6 separate regions of the Homo sapiens genome follow, and all the other regions are linked to region 1. The links are contacts of gene promoters, found by promoter capture Hi-C in blood cells and fetal thymus (Javierre and others, 2016). All regions are on one chromosome and are shown on one strand. Each heading gives the region's core, a stretch centred on a gene start or on the middle of the fragment in contact. The rest is flanking DNA. Distances are from core to core; before and after follow the strand shown. Region 1 holds the start of MYLIP (myosin regulatory light chain interacting protein). Region 2 overlaps PHACTR1 (phosphatase and actin regulator 1). Region 3 has its middle 5.1 kb from the start of TBC1D7-LOC100130357. Region 4 overlaps LOC107986571 (a long non-coding RNA gene). Region 5 has its middle 23 kb from the start of CD83. Region 6 holds the start of CD83 (CD83 molecule).

Evidence for each region. Contacts are between HindIII fragments. The CHiCAGO score rates a contact against its expected background, and 5 or more counts as called.
Region 2: a contact is called between a fragment that was not itself captured here and the fragment with the promoter of MYLIP in region 1, in 1 of 17 cell types (total B cells). The highest score is 6.2, in total B cells.
Region 3: a fragment that was not itself captured here is called in contact with the fragment with the promoter of MYLIP in region 1 in 1 of 17 cell types (fetal thymus); the score reaches 6.6 in fetal thymus.
Region 4: a fragment that was not itself captured here is called in contact with the fragment with the promoter of MYLIP in region 1 in 1 of 17 cell types (fetal thymus); the score reaches 7.6 in fetal thymus.
Region 5: a contact is called between a fragment that was not itself captured here and the fragment with the promoter of MYLIP in region 1, in 1 of 17 cell types (naive B cells). The highest score is 6.0, in naive B cells.
Region 6: the fragment with the promoter of CD83 here is called in contact with the fragment with the promoter of MYLIP in region 1 in 1 of 17 cell types (fetal thymus); the score reaches 10.5 in fetal thymus.

What each region holds. Positions count from the first base shown.
Region 1 is chr6:16,126,890-16,130,460 of GRCh38, reverse strand. MYLIP (myosin regulatory light chain interacting protein) reads right to left here and starts at 1,375. Exons shown (of 7, transcript NM_013262.4): 1 at 1,052-1,375. The coding sequence starts at 1,138. RefSeq lists a silencer at 694-1,693. The HindIII fragment of the contact is 2,730 bases long and covers 346-3,075 here.
Region 2 is chr6:13,270,722-13,274,292 of GRCh38, reverse strand. It overlaps PHACTR1 (phosphatase and actin regulator 1), which reads right to left. Exons shown (of 15, transcript NM_030948.6): 11 at 1,378-1,433. The region is part of intron 8 of TBC1D7-LOC100130357 (TBC1D7-LOC100130357 readthrough); the gene reads left to right. It also overlaps a transcript of LOC100130357 not described here. Among named protein-coding and RNA genes, the nearest start is that of TBC1D7, 56 kb to the left of the region's middle. RefSeq lists enhancers at 1-1,002, 1,714-1,813. The HindIII fragment of the contact is 983 bases long and covers 1,252-2,234 here.
Region 3 is chr6:13,331,813-13,335,383 of GRCh38, reverse strand. No RefSeq gene overlaps it. Among named protein-coding and RNA genes, the nearest start is that of TBC1D7-LOC100130357, 5.1 kb to the right of the region's middle. The HindIII fragment of the contact is 775 bases long and covers 1,934-2,708 here.
Region 4 is chr6:13,816,566-13,820,136 of GRCh38, reverse strand. The region is part of intron 1 of LOC107986571 (a long non-coding RNA gene); the gene reads right to left. Among named protein-coding and RNA genes, the nearest start is that of MCUR1, 3.8 kb to the right of the region's middle. The HindIII fragment of the contact is 1,528 bases long and covers 1,155-2,682 here.
Region 5 is chr6:14,092,602-14,096,172 of GRCh38, reverse strand. No RefSeq gene overlaps it. Among named protein-coding and RNA genes, the nearest start is that of CD83, 23 kb to the left of the region's middle. RefSeq lists enhancers at 686-815, 1,709-1,838 and a cis regulatory region at 337-837. The HindIII fragment of the contact is 1,797 bases long and covers 670-2,466 here.
Region 6 is chr6:14,116,522-14,120,092 of GRCh38, reverse strand. CD83 (CD83 molecule) reads right to left here and starts at 2,321. Exons shown (of 5, transcript NM_004233.4): 1 at 2,245-2,321; 2 at 2,028-2,143. The coding sequence starts at 2,281. RefSeq lists cis regulatory regions at 1,024-1,524, 992-1,818, 1,389-1,889, 2,055-2,710, 1,894-2,710 and 1 more and silencers at 2,454-2,573, 2,701-2,995. The HindIII fragment of the contact is 8,136 bases long and covers 208-3,571 here.

The DNA of each region.
Region 1 (3,571 bases), core at 126-2,625:
AAGTTCAATGGTGTTACAATTCCTGATCTAAACTGGAAAAACAAAGTTCCACGGCTCCAATGATACCAAACCACGAGCTCTAGTATGGAGGCTCATAATTCCTTTTAACGTCTAGGGCATGACCAATTGCAATAGAGAAAAAAGGAGTCCTCAAAAGTAGCCTTCCAAAAGATGAGGAGGGGAAACTACAGGGTATTTTCCTTCGTATTCCAATCACCGGAATTCCCTCCACCAGCATACTCTGCACAGCTGATTTTTGGCGACTTATTATCTGGGCAATTTTAACCATTTGGACTCCAAAAATCAAACACATTGAGGGAACACGCCACAAGTGTCAGCTAAGCTTCACAAGCGGTTTTCCAAACATCTCAGAGCTAGAGGGGTTGAGGGCACAGCGTTTTCCTGGGATCACATGTGCTGTCTGCCATACCACCTCTGCACTATTTGGCACCGATCTCCCTCACTGTTAAGGAAACACATGCTTAAAAACAACCGAGCAGTAGATGACCCAAACCTATTCCTCCCGTCCCCCGCAAACCCGGAGATGCAGGTGAACGGTGCATTTGAGAGCAGCAGCCTGAGAAGCAGCGTGAGACAAGGGCCCGGCTTGTCTGCCAAGAACCCCTGGGGCCCGAGACTGCTTCGAGCCACTCCATCCCATCCTGGCACGCGGGTGGCACTGCCAGGCGCCGCGGGGACCCGACAGGCGGCATCACGCACATACCTGCGGCAGGTGTGCGGAGCCGCCTTCTTCCGGGAAAGTGCTGGGTTGGGGGGATGATGGGGCGCTGGGGGGTGGATCCCGGCTGCGGGCTGCGCCCGGCCCTCAGCGCTGGGGACCCCCGCTGCGCGCTTTCTCCGCGCACCCCACGCGCGCCAGGAGGAGACCGCGCGCCCCACGCCCGTGGAGAGGAGGGGACGCGCTCCCCCCGGCTGCCGCCGCAGTGCCTCCCGGCCCCTAGTAGGGGGCGCGCCAGAGTGCCAGGCGTCGCTGCGAGGCCCCTCGGCCTCGCGGGACCCGCCGGGGCCCCTTCTTGCCCCTCGCCCTCACCTGGTTGAGGCAGTCCTCGCCGTTGGCTTTCGCCTCCACCTCCACCTCCATCAGCACCGCGTCCGGCCTCGTCACATAACACAGCATGGCTGGGGCTGCCGCTGCCGCCACAGCCGCCTTCTCTTTGGTGTGCGCGGGGCTGCCGCCTTGTCACTGGTGGGACCCAGCCCCGGACTCGGAGAGGGCTGGCCCTCGAAGGCTGCAGCTCTGCGGACCCTTGTCCGGGGCCCCGCGGCCGCCACTCGCGTCCCCGCCACCCCCTCACCCGCTGCCCGCCAGCTGCCCCTGTCCTCCGCGGTGGCGCCGCACTCCAGCAGCCCAACTGCCTGCGCTGCGACAGGGACTCTGCTGATATAGCGGCCCCGCCCCCTTCAGCTCGGGTCCCCGCCAATCACGGCCTCCCTGCCCCTCCTCCCCCGCCCGATCAGCCAATAGCGGCGCCCCTCGACCGCGGCCCCCGCCTCCCAGAGCCGGCTGAGTTTCCCTGGCCGCCCCGGGAGGTGGCAGCTTGCGGGCGCCGAGTGCTGCGGGAAGGGAGGGAGACCCCGGAACACACCAGCCGCCTCTGTCCGCTGGGCGACGCTGCTCAGAGTGAGCGATCGCCCGGGGCTCCAGGCGGGGACGCCTTTCTGCCGTCTCGAATTTACGGTGATTAAACACCTCCAAGCTGCCACTGTTCTTCAAATATCTTGGATCACTCTGAGCACGCATTTCGGTTGTGAAAGCAAAAAGGAAAAGGAGCAACCCAAAGCCTAAAGAAAACTGTTCTCGTCCGGGCATGGTGGCTCACGCCTGTAATCCCAGCACTTTGGGAGGCCGAGATGGGTGGATCACCTGAGGTCAGATTCGAGACCAGCCTGGCAAACATGGTGAAACCCCCGTCTCTACTAAAAATACAAAAAAAAAAACAAAATAGCCAGGCGTGGTGGCGGGCACCTGTAATCCCAGCTACCTGGGAGGCTGAGGCAGGAGAATCGCTTGAACCCAGGAGGCGGAGGTTGCAGTGAGCTGAGATTGTGTCACTGCACTGTAGCTTGGGCAAGAAGAGCAAAAAACCCTGTCTCAAAAAAAAAAAAAAAAAAAAAAAAAAAAAGAAAAGAAAAAGAAAAAAGAAAAAAAAAAGAGAAAAAGAAAACTCTTTTCCACCAGGATTAGCCACAGTGGGTTGCTTGGAGGCAGAATTGTTGTTCCTTATTAAGACCTCATCATTGAGAAAAACAAAATCTGAGTATGAAAGTTTTTGCAGCTGACCAGTGAGCCAGGTGTCTTGGTCTAGTGCTGGTGTGTTACACTCCGGAAGGGCTTCTCCTTACTCGTTCTGCTGAATCAAAACGCCTTACAGGGTACCAGGCCCTCTCTCAGGTTGCTCATTCTACCTCCTGTCTTATCTCACTCATTCATTAAACATTTGTGCAGCACCTGATACCCTGCCTGTCCCTTCTCACAGGCAACCAGATGTTGTCCTCGTCTTAAGGTAAGGTGCTCATCTCCTGACCTAACAGGTGGCATTACTGCAATATTAGCTATTAAAGGTCTACAACCCTTCACTCATTTACCGCTTGTTCCTCTTTGCCAATATATTACATAGCCTACCTTTTTGATTTCTTTATAGGAGCCAGATGATGTGGGTTTCAGCCGTGGAAACTTAGCAAACTTACTTCAGGCCAGCTCGATGGCTCACACCTGTAATCCCAGCACTTTTGGAGGCCGAGGCAGGAGGATCGCCTGAGCCCAGCAGTTTGAGACCAGCCCGGTTTCGCAACACAGCGAAACCCCATCTCTACACAAAATACAAAAAATTAGCCAGGCGTGGTGGCGCCTGCCTGTAGTCTCAGCTACATGGGAGGCTGAGGTGGGAGGATCACTTGAGCCTGGGAGTTCGAGGCTGCAGTGTGCTGTGATCCCCCTACTGCACTCCAGCCTAGGCGACAGAGCAAAAGACCCTGTCTCTAAACAACAACAACAACAAAAAGAAAACAACGAAAGAAAAAAAAAGAGAAAACTTACTTCATCTGTCTGAAGCTTGGTGTTGTCAACAGTAAAATGGAGATGGCAATATCTGCTCTGTCTCCACCCAGCATTGTTGGGAAGCGCAGCAAAGATAATAACGTTCACAAAAGCATTTGAATGTCCCCGTGTATGTAAGGGGAGCTATAAGTTCAGTGCCTTCACTGCTTAATGATGACTTTTCCTGTCCCTACCCCCCTTCACGAGTCCCAAGGATCTGTTAGTGGCCTTTATTTCCGAACAACCAGGTACGATATCAGAGCCCAAGGCTAAAAAAAAAGGAGGGATCCTCCCACACACAGTTCTTTGCTAAAGCTGACCGAGTAAAACTGTAAACTGTCCAAGTCCTAACCCCCACTGTTGCAGAGGAACAGGTGCACTCTCACATCTTTCTGTCTTATAAATACACCTCATGCTATTGTGGGCTGAAACAGTCCCTTCTTGTATTAACTGCAGTGCCTATTCCCTGAATTCCAGTTTACTAATAATCTGGGGAATTTATCTGGAAGATAG
Region 2 (3,571 bases), core at 494-2,993, 2.9 Mb after region 1:
CACATTCCTAGAGACCTAGGCAAAGCGTAGGGTTCCCCCACGACTGAGGAAGGCTAATCCTGAAAATAACTTCTACTGAGAGTTGAGGAAGTGGCGGCTGGCGTGGGGACGGGAGGCAAGACATTGATAAAGGCAGAGTTGACATAAACGGACATGCGGGGGCGTCGGGCGGGGGTGGGTGCTGTAGGCAACAGGTCTCCCCACCAAAGCGGAACCCAGCACCCACCTTCAGCAGACTACGAAATGCCGACCAAGTCACAAGGCCACAGTGAGCACGGTAGAAAGGTAAAGTCAAGAATATCTTAGTGTGGTTTCAGTGGAAATTCCCGGCAAACTCACACTGCGGTTGCATGTGATTTACTGGGCACGGGGCGGGGCGGGGCGGGGGGGCCGGGGGAGGCAAGGAGTCAGTCTGTACAACATAGCATTTCTAGAAAACTCTGCATAGTATATATCTTTCTCTTCTGGAGAGAAATTAGAAGTGTGTTGTGGGGTAGGGGGAACAGGGTCATGAATTAAGCCAGAAATATTTGTTCACTATCTTGAGGCCAGTGTTGGCGAGAATGGTAGCAATGAATGAATAGAATGGTTTGATATTTAAGTTATTTAATATCTACCACTAAACTGACGCATACTGCTGTCCATCAAATGCTTGATCTCTTTTAGTATTTTGTATCCTGTTTTCTCTTTTTTTTTTTAAAGCACCAAGTGGATCCTCTGTACATATTCAAATGTCTCTGTGTCCTAAACCAAACAAGGGGCTCATTTATTTTTTTCTGTCTGCAGCAATGGTGAAAGGCAGTTTTCCTCGAATGAGAGCATCAGACAGGCATGCCCGGGACCAGCTGTGGGAATCCTGAGAGACAGACATGAAGCACTTCACTTGGAAATGCTTTCTTAGTCTTTCAATTTAACATTCAAAGGGATGAGGGATTTTTATCAACAGCAGCCAGCTGCAATGCAAAGTCATGCTTTCTAGTCTCAGTTCAAATGGACATTTCCCTTATTTTAGCCGTGCATATCACAGTCTCCATTTTCAAGCCAATTCTGGTTTAAAGGTGACCCTGCTCTTAAAAATCATTAAATAATAAGTGGTCTCACTCTAATTTTTCAGCTTCTCTCTGACTTTACAACTCACTAAAAGGAAGGTTCTGCCTGCCGCCCGTGAGCTTCTAAAGAATAAAGTGGAATAAAATTTGCCTTCTCTTTGGGGAGGTCGTCTTTGGTGTTCTAACATGCACACATGAAGCTTCAACCGTTAGAAAGGTTTTCAATGCTTTCCGCAGAGGCGCAAGGTAGAAACCTTGTGGCCTACCATTAAATAATAACAAAAGCCGCCACAAAACATCAGGGATTGCCATGGGCTTAGTCACTTACGTTTCAAAATGTTCCTCTGTTCCAGTTCCTCTGCAGTTGGCCTCTGGCTCAGCCGCCTACGGAAAAAATCCAGGAAAAGTTTTTGGACCATATCATAGCCTCCTTGGGTCATTAATTTCCTCGGCCCTTGCAGATACATGAGACAGTCAGTGGCTGGAGTTCTTGTTCCATCCTGTGCTCTGAAAGACTGACTCTCGCCACCACCGCCTCCTCAGTTCCTCAATTTCAAGCCCAGGAGAGGCACGTGCGTCATGTCACAGCCGCTGACCCCCGCCCTCCTCCCTGCAGCGGCCCCTCCCCAGCCCCATCTCCTCCAGTGGCCCCAGGCAAGTGGACTGCAACTCAGACGGGACTCTTTTCTTCACAGAAGTCCTTTTCTTTCCTTGTGGCCTCCTAACTTGGGGACTGTGGCCTCTTGCCTCTCTCTCCCTCCCTTGAGGCTAAAGCCTGTCTCCTGCCTCTTCTGTGCAGACCCAGTTAGAACATAAAGAGGTCTGTGGCCCCGGGGACATGTGAGAGAATGTGTCTGTCTGCAGAGAACAATGGCTGCTCTTCTTCTGGTCCTGCTCCTCTTATTTCGGAGGCTTAGAAGACATGAGTGGCAAAGGCACAGAAATGATACTTCTGTGGCCAGGCGTGAAATTTAGCCACCGTACATGAAACATCATAGCCAGGGCATGAGCCTGCAATGACGCAATGGGTGGAGGCGGGACAGGCAGTGGATGGCACGTAGTGACAGAAGTAGCCAGGGAACGGGCATGGCATCTGAGGGGAGAATGCCTGCATTAGGTCCCAGGAATGACTGACACGGACTCAGGAGCCTGAGCAGGAACAGAGACATCTGTACCTTTGAAGCTTTTGGTAATTATTTAACAACCTGCAATTATCCGGCATTCCACTTCACCCATTGGGATGAGGTGTGTGAGAAACTGAATCATTGTAGAAGAAATTTTAGGCTTCTCAGACTCCTCTATTGGGATCTAAGGGGTAGAAATGATGCTCTCCTAGTTGAGGAAGTTGCAGTCCCTCCTTGGGTATTAGAAACTGGTGTCTATAGTCGGCAAGATGTTCACATCTTGAAATCTAAAGAGAGATCCTAGAGTGAAAATATCAAGTCAATGAAGTCTCCAAACCTAACTACAGTTGGTCCTCTGTGTCCATGAGTTCCACATTCTTCGGTTCTACCAACTGCTGACGGAAAATATTAAAAAAAAAAACAAACAAAAAACAATAGTCTAAAATTATTGATATAGCATTTATCTTGTATTAGATATAAGTAATTTAGAGATGATTTAAAGGATATGGGAGGATACACATAGTTTTTTGCAAATACTACGCCATTTTATACAAGGGACTTGAGCTTCCTTGGATTTTGGTATCCAAGGGAGTCCTGGAATCAATCTCCCAGAAAGGACTATATTTTTAATTCAAAGCTTGTTGTCATTTGTGTTTTTGTTTATTGTGCTGGGCCAGAATCAATTGCTTCTGTGACATTCCCGTGTCACCACCACACATCCTATATAGGGAATGGGCTTCAATGTCTCATATAGTTTGGATATTTGTCGCTGCCCAAATCTCATGTTGAATGGTAATCCCCATTGCTCGGGGGGAGGCCTGGTGCAAGGTGCTTGGATGGGGAGCCCTCATGGCTTGGTCCTAGCTTCTTGACAGTGAGTTCTTGCAAGATCTGGTCATTTAAAACTTTGTGGCGAAACCCCGTCTCTATTAAAAATACAAAAATTAGCCGGGCATGGTGGCACATGCCTGTAATCCTAGCTACTTGGGAGGCTGAGGCAGGAGAATCGCTTGAACCTGGGAGGTGGAGGTTGCAGTGAGCCGACATTGCGCCACTGCACTCCAGCCTGGGTGACAAAGTGAGACTGTCTCAAAAAAAAAAAAAGAAAAAAAAAAAGCATGTGGCAACTCCCTGCTCACTCTCTCTCTCTCTCTTGCTCCTGCTTTTGCCATGTGATGTGCCTTCTTCTCCTTCACCTTCCTCCATGATTGGAAGTTTCCTGAGGCCTCCCTAGAAGTCAAGCAAATGCCAGGGCCATGCTGCCTGTATAGCCTGCAGAACCATGAGCCAATTAAACCTCTTTTATTTATAAATTACACAGTCTCAGGTATTCCTTTATAGTAATGCAAGAATGGCCTAATACAATGTCAGAGAAAGGATTTTTGGTCATATACCTGC
Region 3 (3,571 bases), core at 1,072-3,571, 2.8 Mb after region 1:
TGTACCCCAGTTTCCCAGAGACTTAAGGCCCCCAGTAGCTGTGACCTCTCTTTTTTCAAGTCCTCTCAGTGGCTCAAACCAACCCCTCCCACCCTCTGCAAAAGCTTTTAGCACCTCGAGAGAGGCACTCCTGCCTCCAAGCCTCTCCCTTTTACAGGTCATGGAAATCCATTGTTCAAAGGCTCTCTCTGCTCTGAGTCATCTCTCCACAGCCCATGCTTGGCCCACGCTCCTTGGGCCTCCTGCAACCCACCCTGCCAGCTCCAAGCCTTATCTCTCATGACCCCAACACAGCTGCCAGGCTGGCTCCCATCATCCACATACACATTGTCATTTCCTGCCTTTGCGTTTTAGTGATTGCTCTTTCTTGTGTTGAAAAGGCACTCTTTTCTATAAAAATTATTCACTGCACAGCTCAAATGCTATTTCCTATATAGTGCCTTCTCTAAACACTCCAGGGAGTACCTTAACTTCTATGACATTTCTTGTGTCTTACCTGGGTTGCGCTTATCAAATGCATTGTTACTTGGGCATATTTCTTCTTAAAATTTTTTCTACTATCATATGACCCAGCAATCCACTACTGGGTATATATCCACAGAAATGGAAACCAGTATGCTGAAGAGCTGTCTGCACTCCTATCTCCATTGCAGCATTAATTACAATAGCCAATGCATGAAACAACTCAAGTGTACAGCAAGAGATTAATGGATAAACATCTACTGTCAGTTGGTGGAGGCACAATCCCAACCACTGTTTAGGAATGAAGTTTTCCTAAGCTCACAGTGTGAGAAATATCCCAATCATGGGTATATTCATGGGTAAAGAAAATGTGGTACATATATGTACAGCCTTTAAAAAGAAGGAAATCCTGCCATTTGCAGTAACATGGATAAACCTGGAGGACTTATTATGTTGAGTGAAATAAGCCAGGCCCAGAAAGAGAAATATTGCATGATCTCATTTATATGTGGAATCTCAAAACATTGAACTAATAGAAGCAGTGAGCAGAATGGAGGTTATTAGGGGCTGGGGTGGGTAGGTGTTAGAGAGATGTTGGTCAAAGGGTAAAAAATTTTAGACAGCAGGAATAAGTTTAAGAGTTCTATTGTCCATAATGGTGACTAAAGTTAATAACAATGTATTGTGTTCCTGAATTTAATGTAATACTTTTAAAAACTTAAATGAAATAGAAACATTTCTTCAGAGACCTAAACTACCAAATCTTTTTTTTTTTTTTTTTTTTTTTGAGATGGAGTTTTGCTCTCGTCGCCCAGGCTGGAGGGCAATGGTGCCATCTCAGCTCACTGCAACCTCCGTCTCCCGGGTTCAAGCAATTCTCCCACCTCAGCCTCCTGAGTAGCTGGGATTACAGGCAACTGCCACCATGCCTGGCTAACTTTTTAAATTTTTAGTATAGACGGGGTTTCACCATGTTGGCCAGGCTGGTCTCGAACTCCTGATCTCAAGTGATCCAACAACCTCGGCCTCCCAAAATGCTAGGATTACAAGCGTGAGCCACCGCGCCCAGCCCTAAACTACCAAATCTTAATAAAGAAGAAACAGATCTCCTGAATAGCCTCTATCTATTGAAGAAATTGCATGTAAAGTTTAAAACCTTCTCACAAAGAAAACTCTAGACCCAGATAGTTTCATTGGTGTATTCTACCAAACATTCAAGGAAGAGACAATACCAATCTATACATACCGTTCCACAATACAGAAGAGAAGGGAATACGGAAACTGTTCACTTTCTACCAGTTCCATCGCCCTCCTTCTCCTCTTGCCTCCACCTCCATGATTGGGAGTTCCTGTGCATGTGTACAGGTACCCCAGACCGCAGGCCCATGCTTCAGGCACAGCCCCTGCAAACAACCACCACACCCCCAGGGCCAAGGGGTGAGCCCACCAGTGGCTTTGAAAATGGGAAGCTTACCTGGTGCTGTTCCATTCTTCCAAAGCTCAACACCCCACAAGAATCCACCTGCTCTCGGTTACACTAAAACACCTGCAAGTACTTGTTTTTTATATTTCGTCCAGATTTGATCATTGTTATCTTTAGAAGAGTGACCTGTTTTTTGCATCACAGAATCTAACTTGGTTGTGAGATGCCCTTGTCACCAGCCTGGTTGTTCTATTCCCAAGATGGCACACAACAGAAATACATATTGCTTCTCAAGGTAAACCCCTCACCTTTGAGAAGTGTGTGTTTTGCTGGCTATTTCTGAGATCTGTAGCTTTGGACCTCTCTCTCGTTCTCTGCCTTTTCCTACACGTGCCCTGCTTGGTTTCCACTGCTTTTGGAAACTTCTCCACCTACTTGACATATTATTTTCTAGTTTCACTGAAAATAGAGTTTGCTTTTCTACCCCGCTGACTGTACCTACTGTTTTGACACTAGAACTATCAAAGATTCATGCAAAAGAGAAGACAGGGCCGAGGTCAGACAAGTATCAGTGGTTAACGGAATCATTATTTGTTAAATGACCCCATACGCACTAGGAAACCTATGGCTGTAGCCAGAGGTTTCTATATACCAGGACAGTATTGGAAGTCTATAATCACATGTACGTAAGACATATGCCACCCGTTTTGACAGGTGAACCAATGTCTCCTCTCTGTAACAGCATATTTCTGGGGTACAGTTATGCATGCTCAGGAAGGGCCATGAAAACACACCACTGTGTTAAGTGATACAGGTATAAGCTTGGGTTTACTAGAGGAAAAACATACAAGCAGAAAGTAGTAGAGTGCATGCCATCCCTGGAATCGAATTATCCCTCAGCTTAGACCAGGCATAGAGGTTTACATGCGCTGTGACCAACATTCCAATAAAGACTGATCTCCATGCCCTTAATATTGTAAATATTTACAGTGATGAGGTGGTTCTGCCTATCTGACTGAGTTAACACAGACCTGCTGAGCCAGTTTTCTGCCAAATTACCACAATGAAGAAGAAATGAGTGTCCAGGACCATCCAGGTTTGTCTCTCTTCAGATGTTTTGGAGATGTGGTTTGACCCATGAACTATCTGAATGTATATGTTCACCAATTATGCTGTGATGGGATTTTTACTACATTCACTTTAATGGCTTCTCAACATGAAGACAGTTGTCCTACAGCCATAACCTCACTCCATCTCCATTTCCTTATCTCTAGAAAACGAGGCGCAAGGATTGAGGCCAGTGGTATGTGACAATTACTATTCTGCCAAAGTAAATTTAGAAGCTGAAAGATAGGATGCCACTTCTGAAGATATGCGGCTGTTTTTATGCCCTGAAGCTTAGCTCTCCGCACCACACTTCATGGGACTCGCTGACCTTTAAGTCCCTTTCAACCTTGAGATTTGATTCTGTAACTAGCAGTACGGTGCATTTTTTAAAAAATAATTTAGCAAAAAAGGCTAACCACTAGAGGGCAGAAATATTACAAGAAAGGAGTGATGCCTGTTACAGTGAAGTACACCTGTGAGTTTTACAAGTCTTATTTCAATTAAATTCCACAAAATTTTATTGCCTGACAACTCCATTCTATAATCTGTGTTATGCTAAGAGTCCAGTGACTAATAATG
Region 4 (3,571 bases), core at 669-3,168, 2.3 Mb after region 1:
CATTAGAAAAAACTTTTATCAAGACTTTCACCTCCTGAGGAGCATCCTCGTTTCCTCATCCTTGACTTTTGACCTACGTATATTATTATAACTGATGTGAGTGTCTTGTAGGCAGTATATAACTAGGCTGTGCTTTCTTCTTTTTTTAATCCATTCTGACATTCTCTCTGTTTTAATTGGCATGTTGAGACCAAAGGTTGGCCAACTATGGCCCATGGGCCAAATCCAACCCACCACCTGTTTTTGAACAGAACAATATGTAAAAGAGATTGCTTATGGTTCACAAAGCCGAATATTTACTATATGGCTTTTTAAAAACATTCCTCAACCACTGATTTAGACCATTTACACTTAATGTAATTATTGATATGTTTAGATTGATGCCTAATATTTTATTGTTTGCTTTTAGTTTTTATCTCTGTTTTTTGTTCTTCTATTTCTCCTTTCCTATCTCCTTTTGGGTTACTTGAACATTTTTTAATATTACATTTTATCTATTATGTGTTTTGACTTGATCATAGCTCACTGCAGCCTCAAACTCTTGGGCTCAAGTGATTCTCCCACCTCAGCCCCCTGAGTAGCTAGGACTATAAGCATTCACCACCATGTCTGGCTTTCTTTTTTTTTTTTTTTTTTTTTTTTTTGTAGAGGTGGGGTCTCACTATGTTTCCTAGGCTAGTCTTGAATTCCTGACCTCAAGCCATCCTCCCACCTCAGCCTCCCAAAGTATTGGGATTACAGGCATGAGCCTCTGTGCCCAACCTATATCTCTTTGTACAGTATCTTTATGGGTTGCTCTAGGGATTACAGTAGACATATTTAACTTTTTCTAACTCTACTTAGAATCAGTATTTTACCACTGTAAGTGCAATATGAAAACTTCACTACCATATAGGTCTCTTTATCCTTGCCCTTTTATTTTGTAGTTATTATATACCACATCTATAAACATTAAAAACTTCACCATTGTTTGAATTTTTGCTTTCTATCATTTAACATATTTTAAAGAACTAAAGAGGAGAAGAATATTATACTTATCTTGGTATTTGCCATTTCTGTTGCTCTTCCTTTATTCCTAATGCTCCAAGTTTCCTTTTGGTATCATTTCCCTACTATATGGTGAATTTCCTTTAGCAATTCTTTTAGTGCAAGCTTACTAAAAACAACTCCTCTTAGTTTTCCTTCATCTGAGGATGTCTTTATTTCATCACTTCATTACTGAAGGATATTTTTGCTAGTAATAGAACTATGGGTTGACAGTTCAAGCTAGGGGAGCTCATACATTGGAAAAAATACTAAACTAAACATCAGTTCAGTGGTACTTTGATTTTTGTCTTCTTCACTGATGTGCCTGCTATTATTTACTTTTCAGAGTCCTCAAATAGTGGCTCTATGCATTCTGTCCAGCTTTTATGCCTGCATTCAGGTGGAAAGACAGGGTGGAGTGTGCTTATTCCATTTTACCCAGAAGGAGAATCCTTTCTTCACCCTTTAACACTCTTCAATTACGGAGAATAGTAGTTTGATTAGTGGAAGTTGACATTCCCCCATCAGTGTTTACTAGTAAGAGTATCAGTATGCTAAAGGTCACATCCAGGAATGTTCCAACTCCTTTGTTCTCTCTTTGACCTGCTTGCACCGGGGACAATGAGCCCTTGACCTTTCTGTTACTACCTGCTAAAACAGACCCAGTAGATCTTTCAGGGATAGCTCTGGCCATCTTCCATCTCTTTTCTCCTGATGACACCTAGAATATATAAGGCCACCTAAACTTCTCACAGATGGTGGCTAAGTCAGAGTCTGCTCTGTGAATCCAGCTTTACTCATGGGAGGTCCCTAAGTCTAGATACAGAGAGAGAGTAAGATGGCCCCACTTTGGCCCCAGATCCAAGTATATTCACCAATCCAACTTTGTCATAAAGTCCAACTTTGTCATGGTTCACATGGGGGTTGTCTGGCTCCTGCCTGATCCATTAATTAGTTGATACTTCTTCTTCTTCATTGGCCATTAGATTCCTGTATCTAGTCTCTCTATACATAGACAGAAGTCTAACATGTCTAGATTATCCTAATGTACACTAATGTATCCGGGATAGGAATCAGAAGCCCTATCCCAGCTGGTTTAAGTAAAAGCAACTTATTGGATTACATAAATAAAATGCCAATTTCAGCCTAAGCTAGAATCAGACGCTCAAAAGGACCCGTCTCTTCATTTCTCAGTCTTCTTTTCTTCATAAGGGCTTTAGTCTTAGGCCACATGGTAGCCCCAGGAGCTCATGGTTCAAATCATCCTATACCTAGACATCACAATAAAATAAGACGACCTCTTCCCAATAGTTCCTATTAAGAACCCTAGAATTGGGCCAGGCGTGGTGGCTCACACGTGTAATCCCAGCAATTTGGGAGGCTGAGGCAGGCAGGTCACTTGAGGTCAGGAGTTTGAGACTAGCCTGGCCAACATGGTGAAACCCCGTCTCTACTAAAAAATACAAAAATTAGCTGGGCATGGTGGTGCTTGCTTGTAATCCCAGTTACGTGGGAGGCTGAGACAGGAGAATCGCTTGAACCCAGGAGGTGGAGGTTGCAATGAGCCAAGATTGAGCCACCACACTCCAGCCTGGGCAACAGAGTGAGACTCCATCTCAAATAAACAAACAAAAAAAGAATCCTAGAATTGAAGCTTTTTTTTTTTAGATGGAATTTCACTCTTGTTGCCCAGGCTGGAGTGCAATGGTGCAATCTCAGCTCACCGCAACCTCCACCTCCTGGGTTCAAGCAGTCCTCCTGTCTCAGCCTCCCAAGTAGCGGGGATTACAGGCATGTGCCACCACACCCAGCTAATTTTGTATTTTTAGTAGAGACGGGGTTTCTCTAGACTGGTCTCCAACTCCCGACCTCAAGTGATCCGCCCTCCTTGGCCTCCCAAAGTGCTGGGATTACAGGCGTGAGCCACCGCGCCCGGCTGCTCATTAACTCTGATTGGGTGACATGCCCATGCCTGTGGTCTGCAGAGCGATCAGTCTCTCCAAACCGCATGGACTGAGAGCAGAGAAGAGCCACTGCCCATGGAAAACTAGGGTGCTGAGACCAAAAGAAAGGGAATGCTTTGGAAAATAAAACAACAGGTGTCACATCCAAGGAAAAGTGGATGCTATCCAACCTGTAGTTAGAACTGACATTCATTATACTCCTATCATAGGCCAGGCACTGTGCTAAGTGCTTTACATATGTTATTGTATTCAATATGGCTGGTAATAGTAATACATGAAAAGTTAGTCAACATCATTAGGCATCAGGGAAATGTTATGTTAAAAATCACAATAAGGTACCATTTTATGAGGACTGAAAATATCAAAATTTGGCAAGGATGTGGAACAACCGAAACGCTCATCTATTGCTAAGAGTGTGAAAGGGTGCAGTCGCTTTGGAAAAACAATTCAGCAGTGTCTAAAGTTAAGCTACCATATGATTCAGCAATTTGACCCAGATACTTTCCCCAACAGGGATAAAAATTATGTCCACACAAGGTCTTATACAAGAATGTTCATAACGCCCTATGCATAATAGCCAA
Region 5 (3,571 bases), core at 319-2,818, 2.0 Mb after region 1:
AGAAACCTGGGGGTGTGTTCCAATGGCCATTTAGGGTCCGACACTGCCATGGGCCTCACACAAGAGAACTCTTGCTCTGCAGCCAGCTGTCTTCCAAAGCAGGGAAGCAAAGGATTCACCCAGAGGGCCATGCGAACTTCCCGCCCTGGCTTCCAAGCTGGTCACCCGCCTCACTCAGCACATGACCGCCTGGTCCAGGGGAGGCCTCTGAATTCACAGGCATAACTGTAAATGCAAATTCCCATGTAAAGCTCATGGATGAAAGGAAGGAAATGAGAATTAGGACTCAAGTTCTGTTGGGTGAAATGTAAAACCTGGGTATCTACTCTGATAAGATTAAAGTGAGTAATTGGCAGGTGGACCAGTGGTGAGCTTCAGGGATCAAGAACACAGGGAAGCAAGTTTAGAGGCCAAAAAGGCAGCCACTGGGTGCTAAGCAGGGGAGAACTAGTGATGTTGACTGCCTATGGCCGGGTGAGGGCCGAGGACGAGCCTCCCAATGCTGGGCACAGGTACAGCTGCTGACGTTGACCACTAGGTACAGGAAACCAGGCAGACCTTTACAAAGGCTGGGCAACATCCTGGTGAGCTCCCATGTGGAACCCACAAGAAGCCACGTTTAGTCTCACAACATTTATGGGGAAATTCCCCTGAATTGACGTTTAAGCTTTAATAGAGGAAATCAACATTCTCAGTAAATCTGGTAAAAGGTCTATGGAAACTTTGTTAAATTTCAGCCAGAGACACCCCCAATGGCTGGTCCAGCCAGTGCTGTCCATTATGCAGCTCATTCCATACAAAGTCCTTGTTCTCAAACTTGGCTAAGGCCTCCTATGAGAGAACACCTTCTACACCAGAAGGTATAATTAGATGCCCTATGGTAGCTTTTAGCCCATGTTTTGAAAATCAGCGAGGTGCCTGAGCTGAGGTGGCTGGCGGATGTGCATTGAGGAGATAGGCTGACATGGGGTGTGTTCATTAAGTTATTCAACAAGCATTCATTTACTGGGTATATAGAGTTTCCAAGCCATCATGCTTAACACCGTGGAGCCCAGAGCAATGGATAAAATGGAGCAAGTCCATTTTGCTCCCCATGGAGCATGTCAGAGGCCAGTTGGGGCCAAGTGTGTGTCTGGGAGCAGGAGGGCAATGGCAATCGGGATGCCTGTGAGATTTCCTGCTGTACTTCCTTGGTGGGGCCAGACCAGAGAATGTTGCCTATTGAAAAACATTTCTTTGTAAGGGCTTTGTAAGCAGACATCTCCAGCTGGGAGCAACTGAGGAATTTTTTAATCAGAGCCTTGATCTGCTCTTGCGGCACTGCCTGAGGCTAGCAGTGTCCCTATAACACCAAACTGAATTCTAAAAAGAAAAAAAATCAACTGATTGCTTCCAAATACTGGGATGCTTATGGGGGCATGTGTGTGTGTGTGTGCGTGCGTGTGTGTGTGTGTGCCACCATGCCCGGCAAACTTTTTTTGTATTTTCAGTAGAGACAGGGTTTTGTCACGTGGACCAGGCTGGTCTCAAACTCCTGACCTCAGGTGATCCGCCTGCCTCGGCCTCCCAAAGTGCTGGGATTACAGGCGTGAGCCACCGGACTCAGCCAGGGCTCTGTTGTTATCCCCACATCATGCCCTTCAAGTATGCCATGCTGCCGGATGTCAGGAACCAGGCTCCAAGGGGTGGTGTCTTGGCATGACTTAGACAACCAGAGACAACAACCCCAAAACAGACCTCTGGCCTTTCTCTCCTCCTCCATCTGCCTCCTGCCAGAGAAACCAAAAGAAGAACTTACTTATAAAGGCAGTCATGGGTCTTTTCACTTGTGGCACTGTGATGCCTGGCCACTGTGGGGTTTTGGAAAGGGAAGTAGCACTGACATCATAGAAACCTAGAACTGAAAAAGACCTGAAATGTTCATCTTGTCCAGGCACCTCAGTGAGACAAGACACAGCTCCCTCTCCTTGCAGCTCTCCCTGAAGATGCAGAAATAGTACTCTACCTCCTTCAGTTCTTGCTGCCAGGGCTTTATCTCCCAAAGAGGGAAGATTTTTCTCGCAACTTGAGTTCTCATTTAACTCCAGTCTACTGTCTTTTTTTTTTCAGCCAGGAGGGTCCACTAGTCAGCATTAGGCCCCTCACAAACTTGCAAACTCAAAGATAGTGGTGGAAGTGACTATTAGTCTTTTCATTTCAGGCCAGCTAAACACAATTATCTCCACCTACATTCTTCACTTGGTTCCTGTACTGTGCAGGTTTTGTTGTTGTTGTTTTTTTAATCTATACTGTTTGCAATTTTTCCACTATTTTTTTCAAAAATGTGACTGGGGTACATTGAATTTTTGTTTCCCATTCTTCACTCTCTCTCTGTTACAGAATTCTACACCCGTGACCTTTGCCATGTGACTTTGCAGTGGCTCTCACTAGAATGAGTGCAGTGTTTTTCCTCACCCCATGGAAGCTTGGCTCAGCCACAGGCTTTGCCTTGAATAACAGACGCTAGTGGAAATGATGTAAAAGAGGCTTTAAATGTGCTTGCATGATTTGACTTGGCCTGTTGTATTTCCGCCATCACCGTAAGAAGACTATGCCCCAGGTGGTGCCAGTTCCAGAACAAAATATATAAAGCAGGCCCAAAGTAGACCTGGAGCCTGGAGCCATGCCCAGTGGAGCCCAGCCAAGATCAGCTGAGTCCCTGCCAATCCACAGACCTGTGAATAAAAAAATGAATGTTTGTGGCGTCAGCCAGTGAGACTTGGGGCATTATTTGTTATACATTATTGCGGTAGTTGATGACTAATAAAATTGCCAAAATAAGGTCTGATTTAGACTAGAGATGAATTATTACCCTATCCTTGCATCACACACTCCTCAAACCACCTCTTTTGTGACACCTTCCTTGGTTCCTTTAGCTTCTCTACAACTTGTCCACCCTAAATCCTTCTTTTTGGTGTCCTATATTTGGGCCCCTGATCATAGTCAATAAAACGTTTTCTAGAAGTCAGTCTGACATATTACTCAATACTTGCATGTTTGAAACCTTATCAACAAGACTATAAAGTCATTGAGAACAGGGACCATGCGAGTACAGGATGGATAATAAAATACTCTTATTAGGAACATTCTGTACCGTGATCTCTCATCTTTGGCAGAATAAGGCTTCCAGATGTTAGCTGGAAACACATCACCATTGCATTCATGGAATTAGCATAAGGCTATGCACACAGTAGACATAAGACGCATTCGAATATTTATGGAGTGTCCATTGGAGAAGCAAAAGTAACTGAGTTGTCAATCAAATAAATATTTCTGATCTATTAATACTCAATGTCATATGCCTTATCTTTTTTGATAAAGATAATATTCAAATTCTCAATTCCATAGATATTGAATATAAGCATTTCTCTTTCCCAGCCAAAATACATCAATAGAAATAAGTGAGAGATAGTGAAGCCACCTATTTAAAAGGCCTGTGAATCGCTTCTCAGCCTTTGGCGAAGATTAAGTTTAAAAGGACTATGAAGCAAAACCTTGTGTAAAGCTAATGTTTACTTCCTATTTTACAGTG
Region 6 (3,571 bases), core at 1,072-3,571, 2.0 Mb after region 1:
CAGGAAAAAAAGAACGCCTAGAGACTGCTGTCCCTTTTTTTCTTGACAGAGCTTTCAAAGACCTTGGGGGTAAATCTCGCAAGAATTCTGTCCAATAAACAAGCTCATGCGTTACCGAGTTACGTCACCAGCTGACATCCAAGGAGAAGTCCAAGGTTAATTGCTATGGTTTAGTGGACCATTCCAAATGACCCTGTGCAAGAAGCTTTCACTCCAGAACTGTTTGAACTTCACAGCCTGAAATTTCATCTACTTGTTTCATGAGTACTTTTTAATTACTCCCCTGGGGGTATTAATAATGTTTTCTTTATTAAATAGTTACTCTCTGGAAGGGATAGTGGTTTCATGTTTTTCCCCGTTCTTTGAGATAACTAAGTCCCTGCCTGGTTAGCCCAGGGGCACTTTGATTTTCTTTATCTTAAGTTATTAAGGGAGAAAACAGAGATCAAGATAGACCTCTAACAACTCAGGATTTGGAATCAGACTGCTTCGTTCAAATCCCAACTCCACCATTTAGCTAGCTGTGCAAAAGTGGACAAGTTATTTCCCTCCCTAAGGCTCAGTTTCCTCACCTGTAAAGTAGGAATAGTAACAGTACTAATCCCTAAGTCCATTCTTCCGATGGATGGAAATGGATAATGTATGTAAATATTTACCTTGGAGCTTGGCACGTGGTGAGCATTCAAAAATTGTTTTTACAATATTTTTAAAAATACTATTGTTTTGACTATGAGAACAATTTCGGAATTGTTGTGTTCTCTGATCCCACAGTAAGTAAGGTACCAATGAAGTAGGAATATTTAACACCTTACTTTTATACACAATACAATGCTCTGAGGCAGCAGCACCATCCCCGTCATGCATAACTCATGAAGTGCTGGGCTGAATTCACAGAGCACCTTTGCAATTTATAGGGCAAAAATTAGGTGCCGTGAAGAATACACAGAAGTATGGATACAGCCACTGCCCCCCAGGGAACTGACCATCCAGTTAGGAGACACACACACAAAGAGATCACCGCAATGATGCCTTGTACTGTTAAGTGGCCAAAGACGTACAGTTTCTTATAGTATCTTTTATGGTGGGCAGAAGAACGCCCTGCATTTTGGGGAAAGCTACAAGTGCAGAGATTTGCCCCCGTGGTAAGACAGCAAATCAGTGAGAGCTACAGAGTAAGGTTGTAATATCATATTCATTTGGGTTAAAATGGAGGTGCTGTGGTAGCAGTGGCCTGACTTAAAGAAGGACCAGTGATATCAAACAGTAGCTGCTTGGCTTTGGAATGACACCATCATTGCCATCTTAGAATCTGAGAATGTTTCAGTCAAGAGGAAACCTTGAAAAAGCCTCCTTGTCACTCAGTCCACTTACAGTAGGAGCAGCAAGGCCTGTTCTTACACATGCGGGCTCCGGCTCATGCATCCACCTGATGCTCTCAAGGCTGCCAGAGGAAGGAGGAGGAGGGCTAGGGGAGGAAGCCAAGGGTATCCCACAAAGGAGATGACCACTGATAACTACCATGGATGAAATGGCCTAAGTCACTTCTGTGTCTTAGCCTTTCCTTTCAAATTGCCCCCTCCCCCTCCCATGTATCATGGGCATCACAGTCACAAAACACAAGAAATCAGAAGTCTGGAGACATTCCCCCTGTCCAATGCCCAAATCTAGGTCCCTGTTGCTTTCTTCCTGACCTGCTGGCCCACAACCACAGGTGGCCTCCAGAATTAATCCAAATGAGAGTCTCTGCCCTTCCAAAACATCTTAAGTGGATCATTCATCTCAGGCCACCTTCAGTGACAGGAAGGGGATTGAGGTCTGCGGAGAGCAAAACCTAATTCGGCCCTGTACCTGGATGCGGATGGGGTGGGGGAGGCGCGACGGGAGGCTGGGTACTCCAAGTTCAGCTGCGGGAGACGCCCCTCGCCCCCACCTGGCAGCCACAGAGGGTCGCCAGCCTAGGGGAGATGGTTCCTGCTGTCTTCAAATGAGCCCACCAAACCCCAGCCCGTGGGTATCGCAGCACCTACCTTGACCCAGGAGACCGTGTAGGGAACCTGCGGATCCCAGGGGGCGGTGCAGGGCAAGTCCACATCTTCGGAGCAAGCCACCTTCACCTCCGGCGTCGCGGGAGCCAGGCTGTAGGCTACAAGAAAGAGAGAGCGCGTCGTGAGCAAGCGACCGACGGGAGGGGGTGTCGTGGAGGGGCGGGGGGCGACAGGCGAGACAGGCGCTCGCGAGCCCTACCGCAGCTCAGGAGCAGAAGCTGGAGGCCGCGCGACATGGCTGGAGCGCTGCGCCGCTGCCACGAGCTGCAGAGCTGTGGCGCGCGGGCGCCGGCTGCCCTTTTATGCCCGCGCGTTCGGGAACTTCCCTGCGCGCCAGCCCGGGGGATTCCCCGGCGGGCAGCGGAAGCGGGTGGCGCGCCCTCCTAGTCCCGCTTAGGCCGGGGCGCCCCCGTCCCCGCCCCCTTCGCCCCCGTCCCCGCCCCCGTCCCCGCCCCCGTCGCACCCGCCGCCCTCGCCGCGTGCGCGTCCCCGCCCCCGCGCGCCCGGGCCGGGCGCCCCGAGTTCGCGTCGCTGCTGCGGCTGGCAGCGGCGACAGCAATCCCCGCGTGACGCCCAGCGCTGGGGGCTTTGCAGACCGCGCTCGCGCGCGTGACGCTGCCGTTGACCCGCAAAAGGAAGCCGGGAACCGGGCCATCCGAGCGGGATCTGCCCATTTTACGGAGGCCAAACCAGATTCCGAGAGGGTGGGCAACTTCCTCAGAAGCCCAGCCTGTCCTTGGGAACGCACTGGTGAACCCAAGTCCTCACTCTTCTCCAGAATCTGTGATAATCAAAGGCGCGTTAGATTTCCATGGAAACATACAAGTCTGTAGTACTTGGCTCCCTGCCTTCCCCGGGAGGTTATCAGTCAGTACCGTCCTGTTTAAATTATATCACCAAAGGAGAGTGTCTCCTATTAAAATAATAATTACACGCATACACAACATTTTTGGAAAAGAAAATTCTAGAAGACAATGAAATCACCTGTAATTCATCCAGGAAGTAACTTCAGTTAACATTTTTTTATATTATAAAATGTTTATAACATAACATAACGTAAAATATTTATAACATTTGTCAGTGCACAGATTGGTATTTTTAATGGTTTATTCTTCCTGCTATCTTGTAACCTACTTTCTTTTAGCTTAATAATTTGCAAGCGGTTCCACATCATTAAAAACTTCCAACAGCATCATTTTGGTCCATTGTTCAGTTGCACCATAAATTAGAATCGATTAGTGTTAGACATACAGGTTGTTTCTTTTTGTATTACTAATATTAGAAACAATACTGTGATTGCTATGGGAAACTTCAGTGTAGATAAATCTTTGCTCTAAAATTGCTTATTTTCTTAGAATAAATACCTCAAGGAAATTGTGCTAGGTGAAGGGGAGTTTCCAATTTTGTCAAATATTGCCAAAAAATTACCTGCAAGGAGGTGTCTTCAATCTATATTCCCATCTGCAAAGAGAGTGCCTGTTTGCCAACACAAACTGTTATCCAACCTTTCTATCTTTGTCCATCCA